Regions from separate parts of the Homo sapiens genome. Here all the other regions are linked to region 2. The links are contacts of gene promoters, found by promoter capture Hi-C in blood cells and fetal thymus (Javierre and others, 2016). All regions are on one chromosome and are shown on one strand. The core of a region is centred on a gene start or on the middle of the fragment in contact, and the rest is flanking DNA. Distances in the headings are between cores, read along the strand shown. Region 1 overlaps LOC101927932 (a long non-coding RNA gene). Region 2 holds the start of CTSZ (cathepsin Z). Region 3 overlaps ZNF831 (zinc finger protein 831). Region 4 overlaps ZNF831 (zinc finger protein 831).

Evidence for each region. Contacts are between HindIII fragments. The CHiCAGO score rates a contact against its expected background, and 5 or more counts as called.
Region 1: a fragment that was not itself captured here is called in contact with the fragment with the promoter of CTSZ in region 2 in 4 of 17 cell types (total B cells, M0 macrophages, activated CD4 T cells and 1 more); the score reaches 7.0 in total B cells.
Region 3: a fragment that was not itself captured here is called in contact with the fragment with the promoter of CTSZ in region 2 in 1 of 17 cell types (non-activated CD4 T cells); the score reaches 5.5 in non-activated CD4 T cells.
Region 4: a contact is called between a fragment that was not itself captured here and the fragment with the promoter of CTSZ in region 2, in 1 of 17 cell types (total B cells). The highest score is 5.4, in total B cells.

What each region holds. Positions count from the first base shown.
Region 1 is chr20:58,870,520-58,877,161 of GRCh38, forward strand. All of the region lies in intron 3 of LOC101927932 (a long non-coding RNA gene), which reads right to left. It also overlaps a transcript of GNAS not described here. Among named protein-coding and RNA genes, the nearest start is that of GNAS, 18 kb to the right of the region's middle. The HindIII fragment of the contact is 3,307 bases long and covers 1-3,091 here.
Region 2 is chr20:59,005,654-59,011,821 of GRCh38, forward strand. It overlaps CTSZ (cathepsin Z), which reads right to left and starts at 1,601. Exons shown (of 6, transcript NM_001336.4): 1 at 1,333-1,601; 2 at 669-832. The coding sequence starts at 1,475. RefSeq lists enhancers at 853-1,664, 2,345-2,504, 2,525-2,634, 2,775-2,854 and a silencer at 1,285-1,884. The HindIII fragment of the contact is 2,129 bases long and covers 402-2,530 here.
Region 3 is chr20:59,216,839-59,223,351 of GRCh38, forward strand. All of the region lies in intron 4 of ZNF831 (zinc finger protein 831), which reads left to right. Among named protein-coding and RNA genes, the nearest start is that of ZNF831, 56 kb to the left of the region's middle. RefSeq lists a silencer at 5,754-5,823. The HindIII fragment of the contact is 1,197 bases long and covers 1,455-2,651 here.
Region 4 is chr20:59,201,257-59,207,915 of GRCh38, forward strand. ZNF831 (zinc finger protein 831) reads left to right here. Exons shown (of 6, transcript NM_178457.3): 4 at 5,649-5,800. Among named protein-coding and RNA genes, the nearest start is that of ZNF831, 41 kb to the left of the region's middle. The HindIII fragment of the contact is 1,943 bases long and covers 302-2,244 here.

The sequences.
Region 1 (6,642 bases), core at 188-2,687, 140 kb before region 2:
ATTCTCTAGATGAAATGTAGGATGCCCAAATGGAAAAAAAGCCCCATGTTTCCAGGGTGTTTTGGTTGGGGCTCTCATCCTGTCTTGGGTCCCGGGGACCTTACTTTTAACACCAATACAGCCATTCTGTGCTTTTCTCAGGGGAGGGGTGGTTGGGGGTTTGGTCTGTTTATTTGGTGGCTTTCTTGGTCAGTCTTCTCCCTGCGCCAGACGCACAAATCCCTCCCTTAGAGGGAACCACACCCTCTTAGAACTCTCCCTTCTGGGGCCCAACTGCCCACTTTCGCTTCCCACATGACATGGAACCCACATCCCACACTTGGCCGGGCGCCTTTTCTTCTAGTTGTATTTATTGTTAAAATGACATCATAATATTACAGGAAATCCCCCCAGCCTACCCTCACCCTGCTGTGATTTTACTGATCATTATCTCCCCCTGTTCTTTACTCAGGTGTATGCATAGTTTTGAGAGGGCATGAATCATGGTGTGCAGTTTCATATTAATCCCCCTGCTCCACAAACACACACTACAGGACAGTTTCCTTAGAGCTCTTCCATGTTCGCCATCGTCCTTCCACAGTTCTTTCACTTGTTCAGTCCTTTCGCTAGCGGGGAAGAGCAGGGAAAGAATTGAGGTTCCCTCCCTTTGTTTTTCCTTCTCTGATCTTTTGAAATCCCGGGGTCCTTGTGAACGACTCAGAAATTAAAACCAATTCCCTTTGGCCAGTTGTTTATTGTTGAAAGAGAGAGACAAAGAGAAATTAAGGTGCAAACGGAAGGAAAGAAGTAAATAGAGATTAAATTTAAAAATTTGAAAGGGAGCAGTGGTTCACGCCTGTAATCCCAGCACTTTGGGAGGCCGAGGTGGGCAGATCACCTGAGGTCAGGAGTTCAAGACCAGCCTGACTAACATGGAGAAACATCATCTCTACTAAAAATACAAAATTAGCTGGGCATGGTGGCGCATGCCTGTAATTCTAGCTACTCGGGAGGCTGAGACAGGAGAATCGCTTGAACCCGGGAGGCAGGGTTTGCAGTGAGCCGAGATTGTGCCATTGCACTCCATCCTGGGCAACAAGAATGATACTCCGTCGAAAAAAAAAAAAAAAACAAACAACAAAAAAAAAACCAAAAAAATTAAAAGGGAGAGAGAGGAGGAAAAAAGAGGGAAAGGAAAGAGAGAAGGAAGGAAGAAGGAAGGGAGGGAGGAGGGAGGGGGAGAAAAGAAAAGAAAGGAAAAGAAAAAAGAGAAGAAAAGAAAAAAGAAAAGAGTGCCTTTGCCAAGTTTAGCTCTAAGCACCAAATGGGGTCCTTGCCCTCTAGGAACTTCTAGTCCAGAACAGAGGAGAGGATCAGGTTGCAAGTGATTATCCTTCTACCAGGCAGGGGGTGGAGCGCTGCCAAGGAGGGTGTGGCTGGCACAGCTGAGGGGCCAGGCTGGCTAGACCGGACAGGAGTACGGGGAGGAGAGGCAGGTTCACAATCCAGGCTGGGGCATCCTCTCCTCCCCATCTCACTGCCCCATGAGGTCCCTTGTTCGTTCAAGTGCCAACCAGAAGAGCTGGGACAGAGGCCTCTCTTGTGTGCCAAGACGGGGGCCACCACCACCCTCTGAGCTCTGACCACTGCCCTCTCACCTCTTATTGCTTTCCCAAGTGTTTACCTCCTGATTCTAAAACGATGGTCCAATTTTTGTTTTATTTTAAAGTTAGGAACACACTGCATGTAGCACACTTCATGGAGCACAAGTGTTTTCACATGCCTTATCCCACTAAGTGGTTTTGTTTTGTTTTAGAAAGTCTGGCACACAGAGAACCTTCTAGTTCTTTAAAAAAAAAAATCATAAATTTTTAAATTTGATAATTATCCAGAACAAAACAAAGCAAACCCTAAGGTTAAAAGTGAGCATCCTATAAGTTAAGTATAGATCTTTGATGTTGGGGAAACCTTTGAATTTTACAAATCGATGTCCTTGAGAATTGGGTTCCAGCCAGACCCACTGTAGGCATTGTTTTCTTTTTTTCTTTTTCCTTCCTTCCTCCCTTCCTTCCTTTCTTCCTCCCATTCCCCCTCCCCACTTTGAAAAACAAGTTTTATTCTCTTGGGTTATGTTCATTAGAGAGGGAAGACAATTCTGTTCAGCAAGGAAAGGTGAGGGGAAGAGAAAAGGGGGGAATTCAGCCAGAGGAGAACAGGGACAAGGTTGATTGCTCTGTGCTGGGGTGAGGGTGGGGGGCAGAGAGAGAACATCACAGCCAGATGCAAATCACAAGAGCAGACCTTCAGCTTCCTGGCATTGGTGGGGAAAATATTCCGTCAGCTGCCTTTCTATGTCCTGGGCTTCATTCATCAGCTCAAGAGAAAAAAAATAAAATCAAAATTTCATCCTAATTTGTTGTGGTTGGACCCCATTCTCCCACATTTTGGCCTTCTTGTAAAGCACAACCACAAAGGCAGAAGTGGCTTCCTGGGCTGACCTGCCTCTCAGTTCATTCTCAAGGCGTTAGCCTCATCCCATCAGGAGGAGTTCAGACTCTCCCCAAGCACCAAGAGTTAGAAATGTGTTGCTAATTGATTTGAGCTAAATTTGTGTTGCTTTGAGACTTAGCAAAATGGCTGATTAGGGGCCAGTGTTGGGGAAAATAATTGCTGATCTAATAGCTATGAAAAGGAACTCATTCACAAATATGTTTATAAAATGGGCCTTCTGTGACATTTTGGAATTGTCAGGGAGTTAGGGGTCACGGTGGTTCTTCAGGAAGAAAGAAATGTTGTTGGGAAATGTTTAGTGGAAATTTAGCATAAAATGACATGCCTAATTTAAGAAAACAGTTAAATCCATCATGGTTCCAAGTGAAAACAGTTGTCACAAATTAATTTTTCAAATGTTTGACTATTGGCAGGTCTGAGGTTTACTCATCTGTAGGTTATGTCCAACTTGGCAAAAGCATGGAATCCTGCCCAGTCCTTGGTACACAGGGACTAGCACATGTACCCATTTTTTCTCACTGATAAGTTATTTCCTAATTTTTTGGTTAACTTGAAGGTCGAAATAGCCTTACTCCTTTTTGTCTGTCTAGTAGCATCTCTAAGCTTGCAGTAGCTGCTCACGTGTCTGCCACGCCCCTTAGAAGGACGAATCCTTGCCTGGTCGGTGAGTTTGCCTCAATTCGGGCATTTTCATTTGTTCATTCATTCGATATACATGTATTGAGTGCCAAATATGTGCCCTTCCCCGTGGGGAAGACAAAAGTATGAGACACTGCTACTCCCTTGATGGAATCAAAACAAACCCAGGAAGTTAACAAGAGTGGGCAGTCTCTGCTAAGCGATTACACAGGGAATAAATAAGGAAAGATGGAAAGATTGTCAACCAAAAGACTTCAACAACCTGCTAAGAGTCTTCCAGCCCAGTTGAGCACACCAAATCAGAGGTTACCTAAAAGTGTCATGAGTGCTGATAATTAAACTGCAGAAAACCTAGAAGGATCTGCTGGGGTCAAAACAAGCAACATTTGACAGGCACAGCCATTCAGATTTTCATGCCACTCTGAGGCTGAAAATTTCTGCACAAACAGCAGTGACTGAACCTTTGCTAGTCACAGGATAGACCTCCCTGTTGATAGGGTAGACCTCCCTGTTGATAACTTGTCAGTCATGGGACTGAATGAGGCCTTTCTCCAGGAGGCACAGCCCAGAGGGTTACTGGCCATGCTGAGGAGGCAGTCTTGCTTCCAGGAGGGGCTGCAGAGGCCTGGCCCAAGAGTGGTGCTGAGAACTGCCTTTTGCCAACTTCTTTCTTTCATTGTGCACTCTCTGGAGCCAAACTATGCCTTCCAGGATCTTTCAAGACTAAAATTCTCTTAGGAAGATGGGCCCAATATTTCCCACCTAACCTTAGAAATCTTCTATGTCTAGGATTAGTGTTTTGAGAGTTAGATGGGAAAGTGTAGTTTGCAGCCAGATCCTTATGTACTACAGAGTGCTTTCACCTTAGTGCTTTCATCCTCCATCTTAGCTCCAACCCTCCATCTTAGCTCTTGGGCTGGCCCCCGTCTTAGCTCTAGCCTTACATCTTAGCTCCTGGCCTGCCCTCCATCTTAGCTTCTGGCCTGCCTTCTATCTTAGCTCCTGGCCTGCCCTCCATCTTAGCTCCTGGCCTGCCTTCTATCTTTGCTCCTGGCCTGCCCTCTATCTTTGCTGCTGGCCTGCCTTCCATCTTAGTTCCTGGCCTGCCCTCTATCTTAGTTCCAGTCCTCCATCTTAGATCCTGAGCTTTGGGTCTCTTTTGTTTTGTTCCCTAATGCAGATAGAGATAGTCTATATTCAAATACTATAATTAATTTCCAGCCATTGTGGAATGAAAAACACATTTTAATTTCCAGAATTTAATTTCCAACTTTCCTTTCACAAATACTTTTAAATTATCTATTTATTACCCTTGAAATAATATGTCTTATGGATAGGTCTCTGTAACTATCACAGCATATGATAGTGACCTTTATGTTTTTTTGAAAATATCTGTGTAATACAGATTGCTAGCTATTTTTTATGTTAAAAATAAGACAAGGGAAGGTTGTCTGGATGACTGAACTGAAAGAACTCTCAGGTGAACTTTGCTCCATAGTGAATATGATTGAGATTTATAGAATTATTAAGTTGTGGCTTCTTAAAAATTGCCACCGAAACAAGAATGCCTGAATTTTGTGTTCTGGGTGATCGTGGATGAGCACATGGCACATCTGAAAAGTGATTTGGCCCCAGGCCTCCTTACCTCCCTGCAGGTGGCTGTGTTCTCTTCAGTTAATCCCATTAGCTGGCAAAGGCTGATGAGGCTACTCGTAAGGGACATGTGCATTTTCATAAAGAGCTTTAGAGGCCCAAAAGCCCAGAGAGTCACATTTTTAATAGTGGGGTTCCTAAGAGTAGCATTCTAACAAGAGGCATTGGGGGGAACAGGGGAGAGCATTTGGGCAGTCACCCCCTCCCCACTTCTAGTTCCAGCCCCATACCCTGTTTTCCCAACCCAAGTCTATGGCTGCCTAGCAGCCCTCTAAGCAATGAGTTGACTTTCTTCCACTGTGACCCCAGGACACGTGGACCCCTCACACCAGATCTCCAAGTAGCAGCATAGTGCTTAGTGTTATTCTGCCTGGCAGCGGGGTGCCCCCCCCACCCCATTCAGTGGCAGTCAGGTTCAGATCGTAGCCTTCAGGGTGCCTGACTCATTCCGGCTCCGGTCGATAATGACAAGCCCCATGTTTTTCTCCAGCGTCCACGGCTATGACACATACAACAGTCAGGAAATAAAAGAGGCTTGAGTACTATACGGTTGCTTTACTTTCTTTAAAAAAGAAATATAATGTGAAGGGCATGGGGGAAGGAGCAAGGAGGCAGGAGTCCAGGCCAGCAAATAAGCCAGCAGCAAAACAACCTTGTTGTTTGTATGTTACATAAACAGCCCCCCCAACTGTCCTGCGGTTATATCCTTAGGAAAAACTGGGGCTTAGTGGCGCTTGGGTTGATTTCACACCTTAGCTTAGAGTTACTCAGAGGTGTATTAACAGCTAATGATTCCATTGAGGGCGGCCCAGATTGCCATCTTGACTTGCCAGATATTAGCAATACTCTTATAGAAACCCAAAAGCCTGCCAATTAAGTTCCCCAGTGTAAGTTAAAAGGGGCCTTTCTGAGATGCGTGATCTTTAGGAAAAGGAAATTAAACTAATTTTGAAAGCTCCTAACACTCGAGTTTCCTTATAATGTAAGTAGGTGACAGCTGGGATGAATATTATGAGTCCCTCCCATAATGTGTATTTGAATAGATGTCATGGATTCTAATGGCAGAGTTCAAAGTCACTCAGAGGGGCGGGTTTTTATTTTTTTAATGTCACCCACCTGAAATTATTTTCAGAAAGTTCTGTAATGGCTAACAGGATTAGAATGACATTGTCACAAAATGATATGAGGTGTTAAAAAGACCCCTACATGATGCGGTGTCCACAACGCACAAGAAGTACCCCCCCACCCAAGCATGACTCAGTAACACTCAGTGAGGAGGAGAGCATCGAATTATATAAGTTACAGTTTTATTTCAGACACACAAGCACGTAGGCCAGCAGTGATAGTAAACATGCAGGCATGCTTTCCCTCTGAGCATGAGAGGCGTTTGGATTTTACCCTCCCAGATGCAGAACCTCTGTACTTCTAAACAGCTTCCTCCTGACCCTTAGCTAAGTCAACGGGGAAAATCAGCCTCCAAGTTTTGCTAAATTGTGTACCATGACAGTGACTTGTATTTAGGAGACCTTGCGTGGATCTAAAGCCCAGAAGTAGCCACCACCACCGTTCCTCCTGATGAAAATGGCCTCACCAGCACCTCGCTGCAAACAGACACCAGCTCAAAACATTGATTTTCTCCCCACCCTCGCAGGGTTAGGATTCTGCTTAGAACTCTGCTTTAAGCTAAAATTTCCATCACCAAAGGGCCTGATTTCAGGCAGAGAAAGGACCACTTTAGCAAATGAGAGAAGCGAAGAGGAGTGGAGGAGGAGGGTCATTTCAACAGCAGCAAAACTCAGCCATGCCATTTTCCCTGACAGCACTTTAATTATGATGAAAGAACAAGATTTTTTTTTTCCG
Region 2 (6,168 bases), core at 351-2,850:
GCTCCTGGACCCTGTGCTGTGACTGGAGAGGGGATAGCAGAGTCCCTTCCAAATGCTGTGGGGTGGGCCTGGGGCTGGTTTGCAGCTGTCCCTTCTCCCGCCTTCTCTCCCAAAGCAGGGTGCAGCAGCCTCGTTGATAGGGAGGGCCTTAGTTTCCCCTTCCTCTTTGCTAAGAGCCTCCCTACCCTACTCCTGCCAAAAGCCTAAGATAGAAACCCACCAGGCTGGAGGTAGTGACCAGGTTAGGCCATGGGCTGTAGCCAACTAGCCTCACCCAATATTCCAAGCCCAGGACAGGCTTTCATCTGTGCTGAGAAGCAGTTTACTTCTGTATCCTCAAATACAGCCTGGGGACTCAGTGATTTTGCATTTCTGTTTCTATCCCAATGGCTGAGGTCACAAGCTTTGGGGGAGAGAGGGCACCTGGCAGCCACTTGTCACTGGGATTCAGTCCTAGTCCTGCCTGTCACCCAAAAGCCCCAGAATGACCCAGCTTGGGTCACCTCAGCAGAGGGCAAAGGCCCGCGCTCCTCGGCCTTAGCACCCCAGCCCAGGCTGACCTGGCCTTGAATCACAGGCCCCTGGAACCGCGGGCTGAGCTGCCTGGGCCTATAAACAGGCAGCCGGGATGGGCTTTCCTGGCCCACAGTCAAAGGGCGGCCACTCACCCGCCATAGCGCTGGTGCTGGCGTGGGCCCAGCAGGAGCCGCAGTATTGGGGGATGTGCTGGTTCCGGGTGATGCTGGCATAGTTGACACCATCCACATTGCGCCAGTCCCAGCTCTTGGGCAGATCCGCTGGGGACAGGTACTCATGAGGCCGGGGGTATGTGCTGAGAAGAGATCATCCCCACCCAGATCGGTGCTGGGGCTCCCGGGGGCCGTGGGCCCAGGAAGCCCTCGGTAGGGCCCTCCCGCCTTTCCCAACACCTGAGGGCATGGGAGTGGGGCCACAATCACCAGAGGTGAGCCAGGTGTGGGCCCACCTCACACTAGGAGGCTCCAGCGCTCTCAGAATGTGAAGGAGGCAGGGCACCCCCGAAAGGAGGGAACCGGGTTGCTCCCCCAGCCATGCCGCGCCGTAAGGGCCACCCCCAGAGGCCGAGGAGGTGGGGCTGGCCTGGCTTTCTGGCCAGGTGGGGCTTGTCCAACCCCACAAACATCAGGGCTCACCCTGGATGTGGAAGAGAAGGAGCGACCCCCAAAACGAAGCGGCTGGATCTGACCTTCCAAGGCCTGTTGGCGACGCAGGGCCCCCAGGAGGCAGAGCGCGCGCCTGGCCCGGGCGATGGGCCTCCCGTCCCCCCAGGGCTGCCTCCCCGCCGGTGCCCACCTGCGCCCCAGCGGAGCCAGCCCGTCCCCCCGCAGAGGCCGGTAGCAGGTCTGTCCCCGGCGGAAGTAGAGGCCGCCCTGCGCCGCGCCCGCCAGCAGCACGAGCAGCAGAAGCGGCCGCCACCCTGGCCCGCGCCTCGCCATGGCCCCGCGCCGGCTCCTGGGTCCCGCTCCGGATCCCGCTCCGAGTCCCAGATCCCGCGCCGGCTCCCGCTCTGGATCCCGCCCCGGCCTCGGCCTCGGCCCAGCACCCGGCCGACCCCGCACTTTGGGCCCCTGCCCCGCCCGGCCCTTAAGGCTGCGGCGGCCAGGCCGGGACACTCCCCCGGGGCGGGGCTGTCCCATCGCTGCTCCTGCCCCGCCCGGTGACCCCTGCCCTCCCCGCCCGGCTCCGCGCCCCGCTCCCTCCCTGGCTCCGGGGCACCTGAACTCGCGGGCCAGGCGCGAGGTCGCCGGGCAGACCCCAGCCTGACCCCGCCGCCGGCCGCCGCCCTGAGCGCGGGACTGTCCGGCTGGACTCATTTGCCGGGGTTCCTGGCTTCGGGGTGGGGGGCCGCAGGCTCATGGGCCCCCTTGGCCCTGCATTCCTGGGGCCCTGAGCCCTGGGGAGAGGCCCCCAGCCTCACATCTGGGCCCAGGCCTCCCCTAGGAAGGGATCCTGGGATGCGGCCACCGCCCCCAAAGAAGGGTCCCCGCGCCTGGCTTTCTAAACCCCTTTTCCCAAAGGCCCAGGCCCTTTCGGGGGGACGGTTCCCTTTTGCAGAGAAGGAAGGAGGGATCCTTCTAGAAAATGCCCCAAAGGAAGATTCCACTTGGCGCAGGCATCAGGAGTTATCCAATGTGACTTCCAAAGACGCCTTGAAAAGGTTTTCTGCTAACGAAACTCTTCTTAGTCAAATGAGGAACCAAAAGCAGAAGTGGCCCCCCAGGACGTGGTTTTGTAACTGGGGGAGGGCTTCTCGCTCCCTGCGGCCCCTCTGTTTGTCATGGCCCTTGGGCCCACACCATGGCCTTCTTCTCTGGTAAGAACAGGGCCCGGCATTCTGGGCTGCGACCTGACAGGCCCCTGCTGGGGGCCCTTGGCACAGGGCCCACAGATGAGCTTGCCTGACTCTCTCCATACTCAGTGGCACTCACCACATTCCAAGCGTGCCACGTGGGCAAGGGGAAGTCACAGTGGCTGCCTCCTGACTTCCAGAAGCTTCCATGACCATTCCCGGAAGCGCTGAGGTGGCCATGGAATCCCCGCATGACTGTCCGAGTGGAGAGCAAGGCTGGAGAGCTGCTTCGTCAGCCCAGAAGTTTCAGTCCTTGTTCCCCAAAAAGTGGTCACTGAGGCAAAGTGTGGCCCCGGGGCTCTACCTACTGATGTGTCTCTTATTTGTTTGGCAAGTCGCTCATGGAAACCATTAGTGTCCATCAGTCATCAGAAGGCGGGGTGGGGTGGCCATCCTGGGAGAAGTCCCCAAGCTTGAGCTGGCGGTGGGGGTGGGAGCGAGGCCTCCCAACCTCTGGGCATAAAAGGAGTGGAAAGAGAATTGCCAAGAGGGGGCCTTTCTTCCTCCCATGTCAACCCTCTGGCCTCCCTGACTATAGGAGCTGGGTCCTTGTGAGGAAGAAACCCAGACACAGCTGCCCTTGCCAGGTCATCAGGTGGCATCTACCAAAGCGGCCGGTTTTTGGCTTCTTCTAAAGAAAAAGCTAAGAACTCACAAAATTGTGTGGTAAGAGATATCGTGCCCCTCCCTCCAGGTACCCATAGTTATGATCCAGGTACTGTGAAGTCCAACAGCACATTCTACAGCATGAGAAACAAGCCTGGAGAGGGGAGGGCCCCTTGTGCTTGGCCTCTGATGCCTGAGCTGTGATGTCCTGGGCCCTGGTCCCTGAATCTGGGTGAAAAGGCACCCAAGGTGTAAGCTTTTCTTTCCTGTAGCATGGGGAGAGCTGGGGTGCTCTGAAGATGCCCCGAGACTCTCCGAGCAGGTCCAGCGCATGTAGAAGGTATGACAGGCATGGTCAGCAAGGCAGGCACACGACCCCTGCAGTCACATGAGGCCCTAAGTCCAGAAGTGTAATGCAGAGCTGAACGAGGGGCTCTCCAGGTTCACTGTGCCCTGGGCCCTGCAAATTATGTAGCTGGGTCTGATGACAGCAACCACACCTGCTCCATCACAAGTCCTGTACATCACCCGCTTTCAGCCCAGAGCCTCTGGCAAATCAAACTCACAAACAGGGGTCAGGAGGAGGGGTGAGATGGTCAGGAAGGGGAATAAACATTCACAGTCCTGCTCCCAAATGCTGGCACAAAGCTTAATTTATCTGGGGAGTTCCAAAGAGGAGACTCTCCGGATTTACCCTATTGAAAGTTGGTTAAAGGGAAGGATATTTTTAGGCTGGTAACAAAAAGGACGTCCAAAGTTGACAACTTGTGCCCCCTGGGTTTCCCTAACATAGAAGCAATTCAAGATCAGAATCTGATGGAATAGGGCAGGAAGAGAGGGAGGGAGCCTATCCATTTGAAATCATCATTTACTTTTTCTTTTCTTTTTTTTTTTTTGGAGACAGAGTCTCGCTCTGTCACCTGGGCTGGAGTGCAATGGAGCAATATCGGCTCACTGCAACCTCCACCTCCTGGGTTCACGCAATTCTCCTGCCTCAGCCTCCTGAGTAGCTGGGATTACAGGCACACACCATCACACCTGGCTAAGTTTTTGTATTTTTAGTAGAGATAGGGTTTCACTACGTTGGCCAGACTGGTCTCGAGCTTCTGACCCCGTGATCCTGCCGCCTCGGCCTCCCAAAGTGCTGGGATTACAGGTGTGAGCCACCGCGCCTGGTCTGAAATCATCATTTTCAAGCCAAGAAGGAAGGAAGGGGGCCTGATGAGACTTATCTCTCCAGCCTCTTCTCATGGGTCCAACACAGCAAACCACGCAGAGACAGGGCTCCTCATCTCTGAACCTGGCCCTAGTCGAGTGGATGCATGTCTGGCTGCCAGACTGCTCCGAGAAGCTGGCGGGCTGTGTCATTTTGGGGGTTACTAAAATCGTGCAGCAGAGGATCCTAAATAGGATTTTTGGTTTTCTTGGTTTTGGGGTTTTTGTTGGTTGTTTTTGTTTTTCCCTTAACTCGATGCAAGATCTTAAACATGTTCCTTGTGGGGGCGGGGTTGGGGATGGCCACAAACCCACCCAAACTCAAATTCCAGTGCTGCTATTAGTGAAGGATGTTTAGCTGGAGGAGTTCTCTGAAGGGCACACAGATAAAACCAGGAGGTGTCTGGGACTGGAAAAAGAGGAGGGAGCACATTGGGAACCTGATAGACAGGCCACCCCAGCCATTTCTTGCTGGGGACTGCTTGCTGGGGGTTGAGTTTAGCCCCAGAGCTGTGTCTCTCTCTTCAAAGCAGACTCACCTGCAGAGCAGCTTGGGGACTCTTGGAAACCGGAAAGGTGTTTCCTCCTGACTTGGCTGCAGGTGCCTGCAAGGTGGTTTTGTGGATACTGACTCTTCTTCTCATCTGGGCCGGGATCCGAAGAGGCTTGGGGCAGGGCACTTGGACCTTCCTACCTCTGAGGCCCTACTTGCCTAAGCATTGCTTCTAGCAGCTCTTTATAAGCAGCTGTGTGCCACCGCCTTCCAGCTTGGGGCAGAATTGAGTAGGTATTTAGAGCAAGGCGTCTCCCCTGAAACCACTTTGCCTGGAAAGCTTGGCACCTATCCTGGGTTTTCCTTCCTGGAGGTAATGGAGTCATTCCTGCTCCCAGTGGTGCTTGAGGGCAGAGGGCTGAGCCAATGACATTCTAGAGGACTGTGCAGCCGCATTTGATCCTTTGCACAATGCTGTGAGGTGGGGGTGGGGGTTGGGAGGCAGATGCTATTACTCCATTCTACTGGCGAAAAGACTGAGCCTCTGGAGATGTCAGGTGACCTGTGCTCAGCACGAGGCTCCTGGGTGGCAGGTTCCAATCCAGTCCCTTTTTTTTTTTTTTTTTTTAACCCCATGAATTCTCCTGGAAAACACATGATCCAAGGCCACAGACACAAAAGCCTATTCATTTCTAAAAATAAGGCTGATTTTTCTCCTCATTCTGATAAAGATCAGCACTCAGGCCACGGCTGGCCCACCTTCCCAACCTGGAGGAGGAGAACACAGATGAGTTTTCATCGACTGTGGAATGGCCTCGAAATCCTTTTTCTTCTTCCTTTGTGCCATATTGTCTGGCTTCCACCCCGGCAAGCTGCAGACATTTCCTATTATTCCACATTCCTGAGTTTAGCCACATCCTGGATACCGGCATTTGTTTGGGTGGATGCCGACAATGCTCGCTAGGCTAGGCTGGTTTTGCAGGGCACGACGGTTCCCTCACCAGCTACAGGAGTTCCTCTTGATCCACTTGGTCAACGGGTCAGAGGCACTCGCTAACACCCAGATATCTCTGCAGTGCAGGCCTTCAGATAGGGCGGGCCAGGTTTGCAATCCACCATGCCACTGTCCCCAAGCACCACCATGCATCACATCCTGGCCTGGTTGTGTTATGGGAAAGGGGATCCCAACCCAGATCCCAAGAGAGGGTTCTTGGACCTCACGCAAGAAGGAATTCGGGGAAAGTCCATAAAGTGAAAGCAAGTTTATTAAGAAAGCAAAGGAATAAAAGAATAGCTCCTCCACAGGCAGAGCGGCAGCACGGGGTGCTCAGCTATTTATAGTTACTGTTACTTCTTCATTATACACTGAACAAGGAGTGGATCATTCATGAGTTTTTTGGAAAGGGGTGGGCAATTCCAGGAACTGAGGGTTCCCCCGCTTTGTAGACCATACAGGGTAACTTCC
Region 3 (6,513 bases), core at 803-3,302, 210 kb after region 2:
TTTCTAAAGATCACTCTAGACACAGAGTGGAGCAAGAATTGGGGTAAATAGAGTGGGTATGAGGTGACTGATTAGAAGACCACTGACAGGTGGGGCACTTTTGTTCTTAAAAAAAAAAAACTTGGCAAAAGTGATGCTCCACCTAGAGGGGCAAAAAAGTTAATTATTAGTTTTTAATTACACGTGTAATCATGAATAATACTTAACACATAAAAATGCAATAGATAAGGCTGATGTTCAGTTTCACCACTACCCCATCCCAATACCATCCTCAGGTAAAATGACAGTTTGGAGTCTGGAGTACATCTGACAGATCTTCATCTCTGTGTGTGTGTGTGTGTGTGTGTGTGTGTGTGTAACACAGCAGCAGCACACTGCACATCTCATTGCACAACTTGCTCTTTTTACTCAAAAATGTTTTGTGGTTCCACACTGTGAAAACATGTAGCTCTGTCTCAACTTCCTGAGCAGGGACAGAGTCCCTCTGGGTGGGAATACTCTTATTTATGAAGCCATTCTCCTATTAACGAAGAGTTTGGTCATCACCAGTGTTTCACACTTGCATCATGCTCCTTGGACACACTGTTTATATCTCCTTAGCCCAGGCAGGGTTTGCTCTAGGGAATAACCAAGAAGAGAAATTGCTGGGTCTTTGAGTGTTGTGTTGCACATTTTTAATAGCCATTTTCAAATTGCTTCCCAGTTTATACCCCTACCAGTAGCATATTAAATACCTCTCTTTTCCTCCAGTTTATAAAACTTTTTCTTCTTTTCCCCTTGGATGAGTAAAAGATGCTACCTTCTATGCCTGTGGATGGGAGGGCCTTTCCAGCCCTCCTTGATTCTCACTAGGGGTCTGTTATCCATTCTGTCCGTGGAAGGCTGGCATTCTCTAGTAGAAAAAAAGAACATGGAGGGACGATAAGACTCGTTTATTTATTTATTTATTTTTTTAAATCACAGAGAAGTAAGTTTCTCTTGACCAGATGTTATGTCCACTGGGCACAATTTGATATTCTCACCAAATATTAATAGATGTGTTCCTCAGCAGAGGCACGATGGATCAGCCTGCTCTGGGGGGACTCTGTCACTGCAAAGGACATCAAGGCCTTCCTCTGTGCCCAGCCAATTCATTAGACCCAGTTAGCAATTTGCAAAAGAGATGAGTTGATCTGCAGGCTGCCAAGCCCCAGTGTTACTCAGCTACCTCCCAGAAAGCTCAGAGAAGCCCTGGCCTCCCAGGAGCCTGAGAGAGCAAATAGTAATATGTGAGGCTTTAGGCAGAGGCTGAGCAGAGTCATCATTCCTCATTATAAACAGAAGCCAGAGAGATGAATTTCTCAGCCCTTCCTGGGTTAGGGTGGGATTTGGGGCCATAGTCCAGACTCCCGGGATAAAATGAGAAGGCTCACAAAGCTGGGGCTCCCAATATGAGAGCAGTGTTTCTTTTTTCAAGCTTTTATTATTCCCAAACAGATTCCCTGGTTATCTTATTTTGAAATGTTGCTACTGGAGGCAGAACTTTAAACTCTGCATGCCTGTATTAGGAGGGACTCTTTGAGGTGTGAGGAAAAGAGGCTTGATTCAAATTGGCTTAGACAAACAAACAGAACCCAATTCATTATCTCACAGAACAGAGAGAATTGCTTCAAGCTCAGCTGGGTTCAGAGGCTCTGCAGGTGGGTGTGTTCGTCTCTCTCCATCTCTGGGCAGCTCTGGTCCTGCCCAGCTGTTCCATGCTTGTGTTAGCGTGACTGTTTTTTTTTTTTATATATATAACTGAGTCCCTAAACTCAATCTAACTGGCCTGGTTTGGTCATGTGGCTGTCCTTGACCCTGTCACTGGGGATGTTGAGCGGCCAGGTATGGGTCCTGCACCTGTCCATGTACTGAGGGTTGGGTTGGGGCCATCTTTTTGCTACAGCCATTAAGAGGAGGCCAAGGAGGGCAGATCACCTGTGGTCACGAGTTCAAGACCAGCCTGGGCAACATGGTGAAACCCCCTCTCTACTAAAAATATAAAAATTAGCCGGGTGTAGTGGCATGCACCTGTAGTCCCAGCTACTTGGGAGGCTGAGGTAAGAAAATTGCTTGAACCCAGGAGGTGGAGGTTGCAGTGAGCCAAGATCGCGCTACTACACTCCAGCCTAGGTGACAGAGTGAGACTCTGTCTCAAAATAAAAAATACAAAATAAAAAGAGTAAATGAGAGATGGTTCCCCCTAAAGAAGTGGGGGTCAGGCAAGTAATCACAGCAGATGTCCCCTCTTCCTCCATGCAGACATGGGGAAACCATCTTACTCATGGCTTAATGCAATTAGGTATGCATTTGTGAGCCACTGAGTGTCTTTTGAAGCCCCATGAGAGGAGAGGAACAGAAGATGGCTTGAGCCCTCACCTCAAGGAGGTTAGGAACCGGTTGGTGGACCAAGACACCTTTGTGAGACAGATGAGAGTCACGTGGCCTGAGGGTCCCAGGTAATTACTGGGGCCTGTTCTGTGCCAGGCAATGTGTGGGAGCAGGAAGAGAGGCAAACAAGAACATGACATGGCCCTTGTCCTTAGGGAGAGCCCAGTGTGGCAAGGGGAGCCGGCACAGACTGGTAAACAAGTCATTACAAATGCAGTGCGGTGAGCTCGCTGATATGATTAAGCTTCCAAATGAGGGATCCTGACAAGGCCTGCTGGAGCGGAGAGGGGAGAGTGTGCTAGCATAAACAGGAGCATAGCAGGGGGTGGGGCATGCTTCCGACGCTCACCCCAAAGGCTTCTCCATTCGGCCCCCCACTGCAGAAAGGAATGTCAGCAGGGCATGTGGGAGAACCGAAGGCCGTCACTCTTTATCATGCCTTCTTTCATCCCTCGATCATAAAGAATTTTTGCCATATACTCTAAACTGCTGGGAATGGAGCACTTAACTACTATGTACTTATTTATCTAAAATGCTAAGTGTTTCCCTTAGCAATCACTAATAGATTCCTGTAGAAACGGAGTGCCATGATTAGAATTCTGATGTCTGTGCCGACAGAAGGTGGGAAGGCAACAATAGGTAGTGCACTAATGATGGGTTCAGTGGGCAGGTGGGTGGGTAGGACGATATAGTCATTGAAGGAGAAGGTTGAAATATGGGCATTTTAAAGATAAATATGTGTTTATGTTAAAAGTTGAGAGAGAGAAAAGAGGAGAGGGAGGGAGAGAAACTCTCATACCTTCAATCCCACACCTGAAATGGGGACGGTTCTGCTTTTGAAAGACTTTCTGAAAACCGTTCTCATATTTGAGTTGGAAGACCCCCTTCTCAGCAGAGGGCCACAAATGAATCCTGAGTTTTGTTCTGGAATTTTCCTATGCAACGTGCTGGAACCAGTAGCCAAATAGAATCAGTGGATGAGGCAGGAAGAAAAATGAGGATCTCAGGGATGGAACTCAACAGGCTACAAATGGGACACAAAAGGCAAGACTCACTCTCAACAAAATCACGGAGGCACCAGGTGCGCCTTGCGGGGTCTGTTTCCCCGACACCCACCTGCTGCCTGGTCTTCACAAGGGGCCAGGCCCTTTTGGTTTGGAGGCAGATGAGCCTGTAGGATTAATTCTAACTAAGGTGTGAGTGGAACCTAGGGGAGAAGTAACTTTAGGGGCTACAGAGAGAAACCTTCAGTGACACTGACTCATAATGGGAAGGTGATTCTCCTCTCAACTCCCTCTCCAGCCTCTTGATCATGCCATGGAGAAAGTCTTGTTTTGATTCCATCTTTAACACTTGCCTAAACCCCTTCCTAACCTCCCTTTTAATCAGAGAGAAAGAGGTTAGGTCTCAACATCTAGCTAGAATTTGAGAACACAATTCTGTTTTTATTGTTTTTTTTAAAGAAGAATCTGCTCCTTCTGATGCCAGACACTCCAAAGTCTCCTCAACCACCTTACTCCATTAACCTTGGAAAGCCTAACGTTTCCCTTTCTCTCTCAGCCTCCTTTGAGGCCAAGGCTGGTACAGGATAAATAATTTTGCTTTCTGGATTTAGAGGAATTGGTTTGAGTCTTGACTTTTACTAGTTCTTTGGGCAAAATTTGTTCCTTCTCATTGTCTCAGGTCCTCATCTGTAGAATGGGGCTGGAGTTTCTGAGTCCATAATTCATTTAATCTGGTGCCCAAGAACCCCATGAAGCCTGTCCAGGAATACCTGACTCATTTGCCCTTGAGATTGAGGAGAGGCTCAAGTTACATGAGACAGTGACTGTGAAAGTGCTGTGTGAACTACAAAGGACTTTACAGTGTGTGGTTATCATGGCTGGGAGGTGGCAGGGGTGAGCATACACTGAATTTTCCCCCCAGGTCTGGACAAGACGTCTTCAAGCCAAAGGAGGGAGGCAGTGAATGGTGCAGGTCCATACTTTCCCCAGCAGGGAGCTCGTAGGGATTCGGGAGTACATTCTGGGCCCTTGAGTTTGTGCTACATGCATGCCTATGGTGCTCTTCCTGCCGGGGTGAGACTTGCCCTCCAGGTTGAGAAAATGACGAAACTGGAATAATCCTCCAAGCTCCAACTCGTCCCAGAGGCCTCCCTGGCAATACTGTGCTCTTGTAGGGACCCCATCGTCCTCTAGGTAAATAGTTCACACTGGCCCTCACCCCACTGCTGGCTGCTGGCAGGGAGCATGGGGAATCTGCTCCAAAAACAACCATTGCTTCCTGCAGTAGCATTTTGAGAGTTTCCTCCAAATGTTTTTCCTCATCTAATTTTCAGTATGGCCCCGTGGGGTCAGGAGGTGATGTGTGGCCAGCCCTGTCCTAATTAGGAGTCTTGCCCAAGTTCATACGTTGAGGAAAAGAAATGCAAGCTCAGTTCCAAGGTTTTTCCCTTGCTAAAACTCTTAAAATTTTGGCTTGCTTATTTCCTTAACTTCCAAAGGACATGAACAAGTGATTTTTGTACCACCCTCCACATAGACATTAGCGATCATTTTCAGTCATTTTCAGCTTTCCGGTTTTGCTAGGAGGCACCTGGCGTGCCGGGAACGGACAAAAGCCATTTTTCTAAGTACTAGCGTTTGAAATTATTAAGTGTTCGTTAAGCACCCCCGGGTGCAAAGCACTCTCAGAGATGTTTATTTCTCAATTTTCCATAATTTCCTTATTTTTTTTCCCCTACCTAAAGGCAGATTGAAAAATGAACTCAGTGCATTGGAGTCTGAATCATAGTTAATGTGCGACGCCCCCTCCCTTAACTGCGCTGTTTTCTTTCTGCCTCCTCCTGTCTCCCAGCTTATCAATCTGATAAAGTTCTTTTTAACCCCTACTCAGGGGCTGTAACTTTTGCTTTATTCCCACGGGCATGGCAGGAAGCGATCAACGCAGAGCCCCGAACCCCACTCGCCCCACGGGCTGGGCTGAGCTGGGCTGGGGGTCGAGCTCAGCGAAGCCTCGGGAAGGCTGCAGGGTGCCCGGGCGGGCGGCGGGGTGGGTGCGGACCCCTGGCTGGGCGCTCCCGAGACCCCCCTACCCTGGTGGGTGGGCGCCCGGGGGCCTGGAGAGCCGCCTAGCCACGTGGATGCTTCTGGAAGAACACAAAGCCCGGGCCCCCTCCGCCCCCGCCGGCGCCAAGCCTCAATCTTGCAGGAGCAGAGAAGAAAGGCTCTGTTTTTCTCTCTCTCTTTTTTTTTTTTTGTGTGACAACAACCTCACATAACCTCAAAAGTTACCCATGAATTTACCAAAACTTTTTATGAAACTATTTTAACCTCTGGTGGGGGTTAAAAAACAAGCCTTGTGAATTTATTACCCGGAAGAAAGCGCAGAGGGCTGGGATTTACAGCAAAGCCGCCTTCCAAGCTCCGCGGGGGCCCCCTAGCGCCCATCGCGGGCACCGCCGAAGCCCGGCTCCCTCCTCGCTCCGCGGCGCAGCACGGCCTGGAGTCCGGTCTGGGAGGGAGGCGGGCGGACCCCAGACTCGTGCAATCAGGGGCACCTGCTCTGAACACCAGGGACCTGGCGGTACAAATTTATTTTATGTTCGTAGGGGTTTCCGTGGTAGAACCAAGGGAGCAGGCTGAAGCCGAAGGAAGGGAGAGCAGGGTTTTGATCCTAGTTCCTTGGCTTCTGCAAATCGGCTGGGACCCCCCGCTGAGCAAGCGACTGTCGTCACGGCCCCCGCACCAGACGACCCCAGCCTGTGGATGATGTTTCACTGCCCTCACATAAACGCCACCCAGAAATGCAAGAGTAAGAATGTTCACGAAGAGGGGAGGCAGGAGCCCCAGCTGATAACAGGAGGAGGCAGGAAGGGGGCCTTGGAGGAGGTCAGAGGGGGGACATTATTTCAGTTTCCCAGGACCAGGGTGAGAGATGGGGGTGAAAGAAGAAAAAGGACAAAACGAGGTGCCGAAGGCTCTATTGGGTGCTCTCTGTCCGCAGGGATGTAAAGCAGAATCCAGGATTCTGCCGCAAAATGCAGGCTCCCAATCGCTGCACGGTGACCAGGACTCCCGGACCCTTCGCTTGCCAAGTGTGTGC
Region 4 (6,659 bases), core at 23-2,522, 200 kb after region 2:
GTGCTTATTTAGCATTTGTATATCTTCTCTGGCGAAGTGTCTCTTCAAATCTTTTGCGCATCAAAAATGGGTTGTTTTCTTATTGAGTTTTGAGAATTTTTTTAATATACTCTGATTATAAGTTCCTTATCGGAGATGTGATTTGTAACTATTTTCTTTCAATCTATGGCTTATCTTTCTATTCTTTTAGTAGCATCTTTTAAAAAGCAACTGTCTTTCACTTTGATGATATTTAATTTACCTTTTTTTGTTATGTTTTTAGTGTCATAGTTTAAAAAAGTGTGTCTAAACAGAGCTTCAAAGCTTTTCTTCTAAATTTTTCTCTAAAGTTTTATACTTTTAAGTTTTATATTTAGGTCTATAATTCATTTTCACTTAGTGTTTACATATGGTGTGATGTATGGATCGAAGTTCTTATTTTTGTGTGTGGATATCTTATCTAGTTGTTCCAGCATCATTTGTTGATCTATTTGTCTATTTCAATGCAAATACCACACTGACTTGATTACGCCGCTTGACTCTGAGACTTATTATAAAGCTAAAGTATTCCAAAGAGTGTGGTTTTTGCATCAAAATGGATACAAAGATCAATGGAGCAAAATAGAGAATACAGAAATAGACCATGCTGTGGTCAATTGATTTTTCATACAGGCTCAAAGGAAATTCAGCGGAAAAAGTATAGTCTTTTCAACAAATGGTTCCAGACCTGGAAAATTTCTCCATCAATAAGTTGAGGTGTCATCAGGCTTACCTCATCTGTTTCTCTTCTTTCATGGATCACTGCCTTTATTGCTCAATGTCCAATGCCCTGAACACTATTGTTTTGTATCTTTATTCAGTTTTTTACTTGGGATGGTAAATCTGGTTACTTTTGCAAAGTCTTGGTCAGAAGTCCCTGGCCTATTGCAGTGCCTCCTAGTTGATCTCCCCTACTTTTATTGGTCTGCTAAAGTTTAAGTTCAATTGTTGATGTGAATTATATTTTATTTCCAAAAAGTTTTATTTAATTATTTTTTTAATTTGCTTGATCATTTTATAGTCTCTTGCACTTGACTCTTATTTTCAACCTTTTTTTTTTTTTTTAAAAAAAAAAACACATCTAATGTTTTGCATCTGACAATGACAACCTATGAAGTCTTGGCACATCTGACTCTGTTTTATATATTTGCTCTCACATATGTTAACTTATTTCCTTGTTTGTGTTAAAATTTTTGACTGTGAGTTGATATTTTTGGAACTTTGAGATGTGGGTTGAAGGTGGATTCCTCCAATAAATATTTGTTTTGCTTCCACTGGGTGCCTGGGGGTGCTCGTTTGTTTGTTGTTATGTTCCCCGGGCAGGTGGTGGGGTAGGGAGTATTTATTTCTAATTCACCCACATACTGAGAGTATGCCTTTCAGAGGTCTCAGCTTTATGCAGGAAAGGAGGTTGGGTCTTCCATGTGCCTCTCACTGAAGAACATTCTGGGCTTTGAGTCCTGTACCCTCAGCTGCACCAGAGCATGAAAATAGGAAGGTCATCCTCATCTGGTTTGGCAGATTCCTCAAAGTGAAAGCAATCTCACTTTTCCAGGGCGCAGCTCTCACTTGGTTTTTGCCTTTGAACTATTTCTTATCTTTTAATCAGAACATACGTAAATTTAAATATAAGTTTAAAAAATGTTTACATTTTACGCTGCATTTTTAATTGTTTTCAGTATAAGGATAAATTTGGTGGTAATCAGTCAGAGTATTGAGTCCACTGTGCTGTTGGAAATGGAGTTCTTATTTTTTAACCTTGATAATGATGGTTTTTTCATTAAGAATTTGTAAATTTTGATGTAGTCAAATGGGGCTGTCTTTTCATGACTTTTTGGTATATCTAAGAAATCTTTCTTTACTCTCAATTTCCTACTTTCAAAAATATGCAGATATGTTATCTTATGTTTTCTTCTTGTATGAATTCATATATATAGAAGGATTTATTTTTATTTTTGTTTATAAAGACAACTATGGACCACGGGTTAAATATGGTTTTTAACTTATTTTAACCATGAGCAACGCATTATTTATATACATATATATTTGATCGACAGGGTCTCACTATGTTGCCCAGGCTGCAGGGCAGTGGCTATTCACAGGTGTGATCATAGCACACCACAGCCTCACACTCCTGGCCTCAGTGGTCTTCCTGCCTCAGCTTCTGGAGTAGCTGGGAGTACAGGCATGCACCACCATGCCTGGCTTGGTTTTTATATTTTTAAAAGCTTATCCATATAAAAACAGAAGAAGAATACGTGGCACAGATTGTCTGTGGCATACAAAGTCTAAAATATTTATTAGCTGGACCTTTGCATAAAAATCAAGCAGACCCCTGCATTAATCCACTTTTGCCCACTTACATGTTAAATTTTAGCTTCCCGTTTATACTTGAAGTTTTTTTCAGGGCCTTTCATTCTGCTTTCATTCATCTCTATGTTTTTTGCCAACTGCAAATACCACACTGTAATGAAAATGGTTGTTTTCATTAACAAAACTACATGAGTTAAAGAAGAGAGATTAGAAAATGCAGGATCCACTTCCAGAGTGGAAATGGAAAAACGCAGAAAATTCATACTCAGAAGCCTAATTGCCCTGACATTAACTAGAGGCATAGAGATCCGGAGCACTCACAAAATACCTCCCTGCCTTGCCCAAAGCAAGCGCGGGATCATGGAATTAGATTTTATTGATTAATTTATAACTGTGTACTGTGCTGTATGAAGCATGAAACATTCAGAGACTTGTTCCTAGGAAGCTTCCAACAAATGGAACAATGAATTGTGAAGCCCCAAGTGAATGGAAATGAGCGAGGAGAAGATTGCAGGTTGTATGGGAGAAGGGCACTCTATAAAACCCTAAAATATACATTAGTCGTTGAAGGGGAGAGTGGAGAAGAAAAAAATCCTGGGCTTTGAGAATGCAATTCTATTAGCAGATAGTGTTTTTCCTTATGGAGCGGATGTTTATCTGTCTAAGCCATGTGTCTATTCACTTTAGTCATCACACAATTTACTTATTCAATGAGATAGCACTCTCAGTAATGAGAGCACAATCTCTGCAGTGAGGTAAAGACAAAGACCTACAGATGTGGCCCTGAGTCCACGTGGCCTCTGCTGCATGTGACCCCCACCACATGTGGCTGAGACTCTTTGTCACGTTGGCCACAGCCCCAGAGCTTTGACAGCAGTCCCAGGTCCTGCTTAGCAGGATACAGAGGCTCTGCCATCCACACCTCCACTGCTCTTCTCTTTGCTTTGTTCTTCTCTGTGGGGTCAAGAGAGGAAAGTGAGGGAAATAGCACGTCAGATCTCATAGTTTCGCCCCAGAAAGGAATGTGTGTGGAGTGGGCTGTGTACACCTGCAAGAGCCACTCCTTGGGTCTACTGTCCTTCCCTGAGAGAGCCTGACAAAGGTGGCAAGGGGGTGACGAGTGTATCACCCTCACAGCCGGGTGCGGAGGTGCAGCCTGACGAAAGTGTCCTGGATGGGGCCCCAACAGCACTGGCCACACCTTGAGGGGACTTGCATGGCTGGTGATGGAGATGAGCTTGCAAAACCTTCCTAAGCCAGGATGCTGCTTCTCCAGGAGGGGCTGCACACAGAACGTTTTGGGAGAACCAGGAGAGAGAGAAACGTACCCTGCCCATGACTAAACTAAACAGTCCTTTGAAGACATTGCCAAGGTCCACTTGGGCTGTTCTCGAAGGCAAAAAGTTTGAAATTCCACCTTGATGAAGTGCGAATTCAGAGGCGGGGCCTTTCCTAGCTCTCTCCTTGTTATTTTGCGTGAGGAGAAAGACCCCCGCTTGCTAATTTTCTGAAAGTAAAACCTCCCTGCAGTTCAAACTGTGCCGTTCTTAACACCTGCAAGTGTGTGGCAGCCACCCACTGACTTGCGCAAAGGTGACCCAGCAGCAGGTGGAAGAAGAATTCTCTCCATGTGCCACCCCTTCCTTCCTCCCTTTGTCTCTGCACTTTGAAATCTCTCTCCACCCAGGCCCTGCAGGATTTGGTTCAGGGGTTTGTCGCTCCCCACCCTGGCTCAGATAGCTCTTTCAGGAACCTGTGTTCTTGACAACTGCTTCAAAGAACAAACCAGCCACCACTGCCTCCCCCACCAAACTAACCTCCCCTCCCCCCAGCCGGGGAATGACAGCTCCTGCCCCAGACAGGGGAGGCAATCATGCCCAGTTGAGGGGAGCTTCTCCCAAACACAGAGGCCGGAAAAGATGAACAAAATGTCACTTTCTCATTGTTGCTGCCAGGAAAAACCAGTGCCCAAGAGGATACTGCATTCTGTAGATCTTATTTAAAATTTTGTGAGCGGCCCTGGTGATTAGGGGACTGCGGCTGGATCTTGGCGGTGGCTCAGATAAATGAGAAAGGAAAATAGCCGGTTCTGAGGAGCACTGTGGAGTAGAAATATTGTAAACTGAGGCTTGTAAAGGGAAGGGATTACTTGTGGCTTGACCAGGCAGTTAGAAGCAGTGCAAAGATCTTCTAAAAGAGCTTAAGGCATATTGCAGGCCTGGCTCTTCGTCTCATTCTTTTGCCTATATAATGGGGGTGCTATACTAGGTTGATGGCCTGTTTGTGGTTGCACATTCCTATTAGTAAAATAATTTGTAGCCTGCACCTATTAAATGTGTATTTGTTCATTTACAAATTATACATATATTCTGCTCTATGACATGAAACAATAGAAACAAGAAAGGACATGAAACAATAGAAATAAGAAAGACTAGATGAAAATAAATGTAAATAGAAGCTCTAGTGTTTTTCTTTCTCTACTGTCATCATGCCTTCCCTCTGAGATGTAAATACTTCGTGTTGAAGACAAATAAATCAGATGATCTGGTAGGGCTCCTCCAGATGGAAGGTCTATGAAGAATGTTGTCCAATATGGTGGTCACAAATAAGAAAGACTAGATGAAAATAAATATAAATAGAAGCTCTAGTGTTTTTCTTTCTCTACCCTCATCACATCCCTCTGAGATGTGAATACTTTGTTTTGAAGACAAATACATCTTATTTGAAGAAAATTTATTTGAAGACAAATAAATCAGATGATCCAGTAGGGCTCCTCCAGATGGAAGGTCTATGAAGAATGCTGTCCAGTACAGTGGTCACTAGCCACACGTGGCTATTTAAATTCATTAAAGTGAAATACAATTTAAGACTCAGTTTCTCAGACACACTAACTACATTTCAAATGCACAATAGCTACATGGGCCTAATGGCTGCTGTATTTGTCAATGCAGATTACAGAACATTTCCATCATTGAAGAATAAACTGTTGGACAGTCTGTGAAGCAAGTAGTCAAGACCACGTAGCTTAAAACCTAATTGCAGCAACTATCCTTGACTAAGCCCTTGCTATGACTAAGCATCCTGGGAAGCATTTTGTGACCACCTCATTTAGTTCCTACAACAACCTCTGAAGCTAGGCGCATTATCCTGGGGAGGTGGGGGATGAGGTATGGAGGGATCAGGAGTTGCTCAGAGCTGACCAGCTAGTTAGAGGTTGAGCCCCGTGTTCTCCTGGGCACCCCACAGTGACTTTCCAGATTTTTCCAGGCATGTGCTCTCCAGGCTGGTTACTGCAAGCATGCTTCTCTCTTCTACAGGTACAAAGGGAATTTCTTGCAGAGCTGTGTTCAGCTGAGAGCCAGTAGACTTCGCACACCAACCTGGGTGCGAAGAAGAAGCCGCCACCCTCCCGCACTTGAGGGACTGAAGCCATGCAGGACCCCTGGGCAGACCTCTTCAGAAATAGCAGGTAATGCTCTCTTTGGAGGTGCATCCAGACTGGGCACTCGAAGGCACCCGCCCAAGGCATAGACACTGGGGATTTGGGATGGGCAGGAGTCAGCCCCAAGTGCCACAGGGGTCAGGCCCAAAAGGGAGAGTAACAGAGGCATGACGTCTATGAGACAATCAAAGTGACCCTAAACTAGTGGGGAGGGCATGTGGTAGAAGACGGAGAATTCAATATTGAGAAGTCACCAATATCCTTGAGTACTGGCCACCTGTGCCAAGCTCTGAACCAGGTGCAGGTTCCCTCCAGGACCCAGGAGAACATGAATCACAGCTCTTGGTGCCTCTAGTTTCACTATTTCTAAAAAGAAAGCTCACTCAGTTCTCTCTGCAGGGTCATTGTAAAGCTAAAGTGGGTCTGTGGATGGGCTTAAGAGCCCATGTGAAATAGAAAGATGAGTAGTTATGTGAGGCTGCAGGGTACATTGCTTACATGTGAAGTGGTAAGAGGCACACTCTTCACCATGCTTGGAAATAAATAAAAGGCGAACTAAGTGGGGCTGCTTCCTGGAAAAATGGCTATTTTAAGCTGCAATCACTGGGCAACCGGGGCAAATGGCTCAACTTCTCTGGATCTCAATTTCCTCTTCCTTTCTCCCCTCTCCCCAGCATTAAGGAGCTCAGCCTTAGCCTTGCTTGATTGTTGATTGGGAAAAATGAATACCCTGTGGGAAATGCTGCAGGGTCCCATCTGGCCAGCAGTGCCTGAATTACCATCCTTCTGTGGTTCATTGTTGTCTGTTTGGCTCAAGAGCTAACCCTTGGCTCTGTCTCATGCCTGAGGTCTTTGGCCCTGGGGGATCCTTTGCTGGGGCAACTCT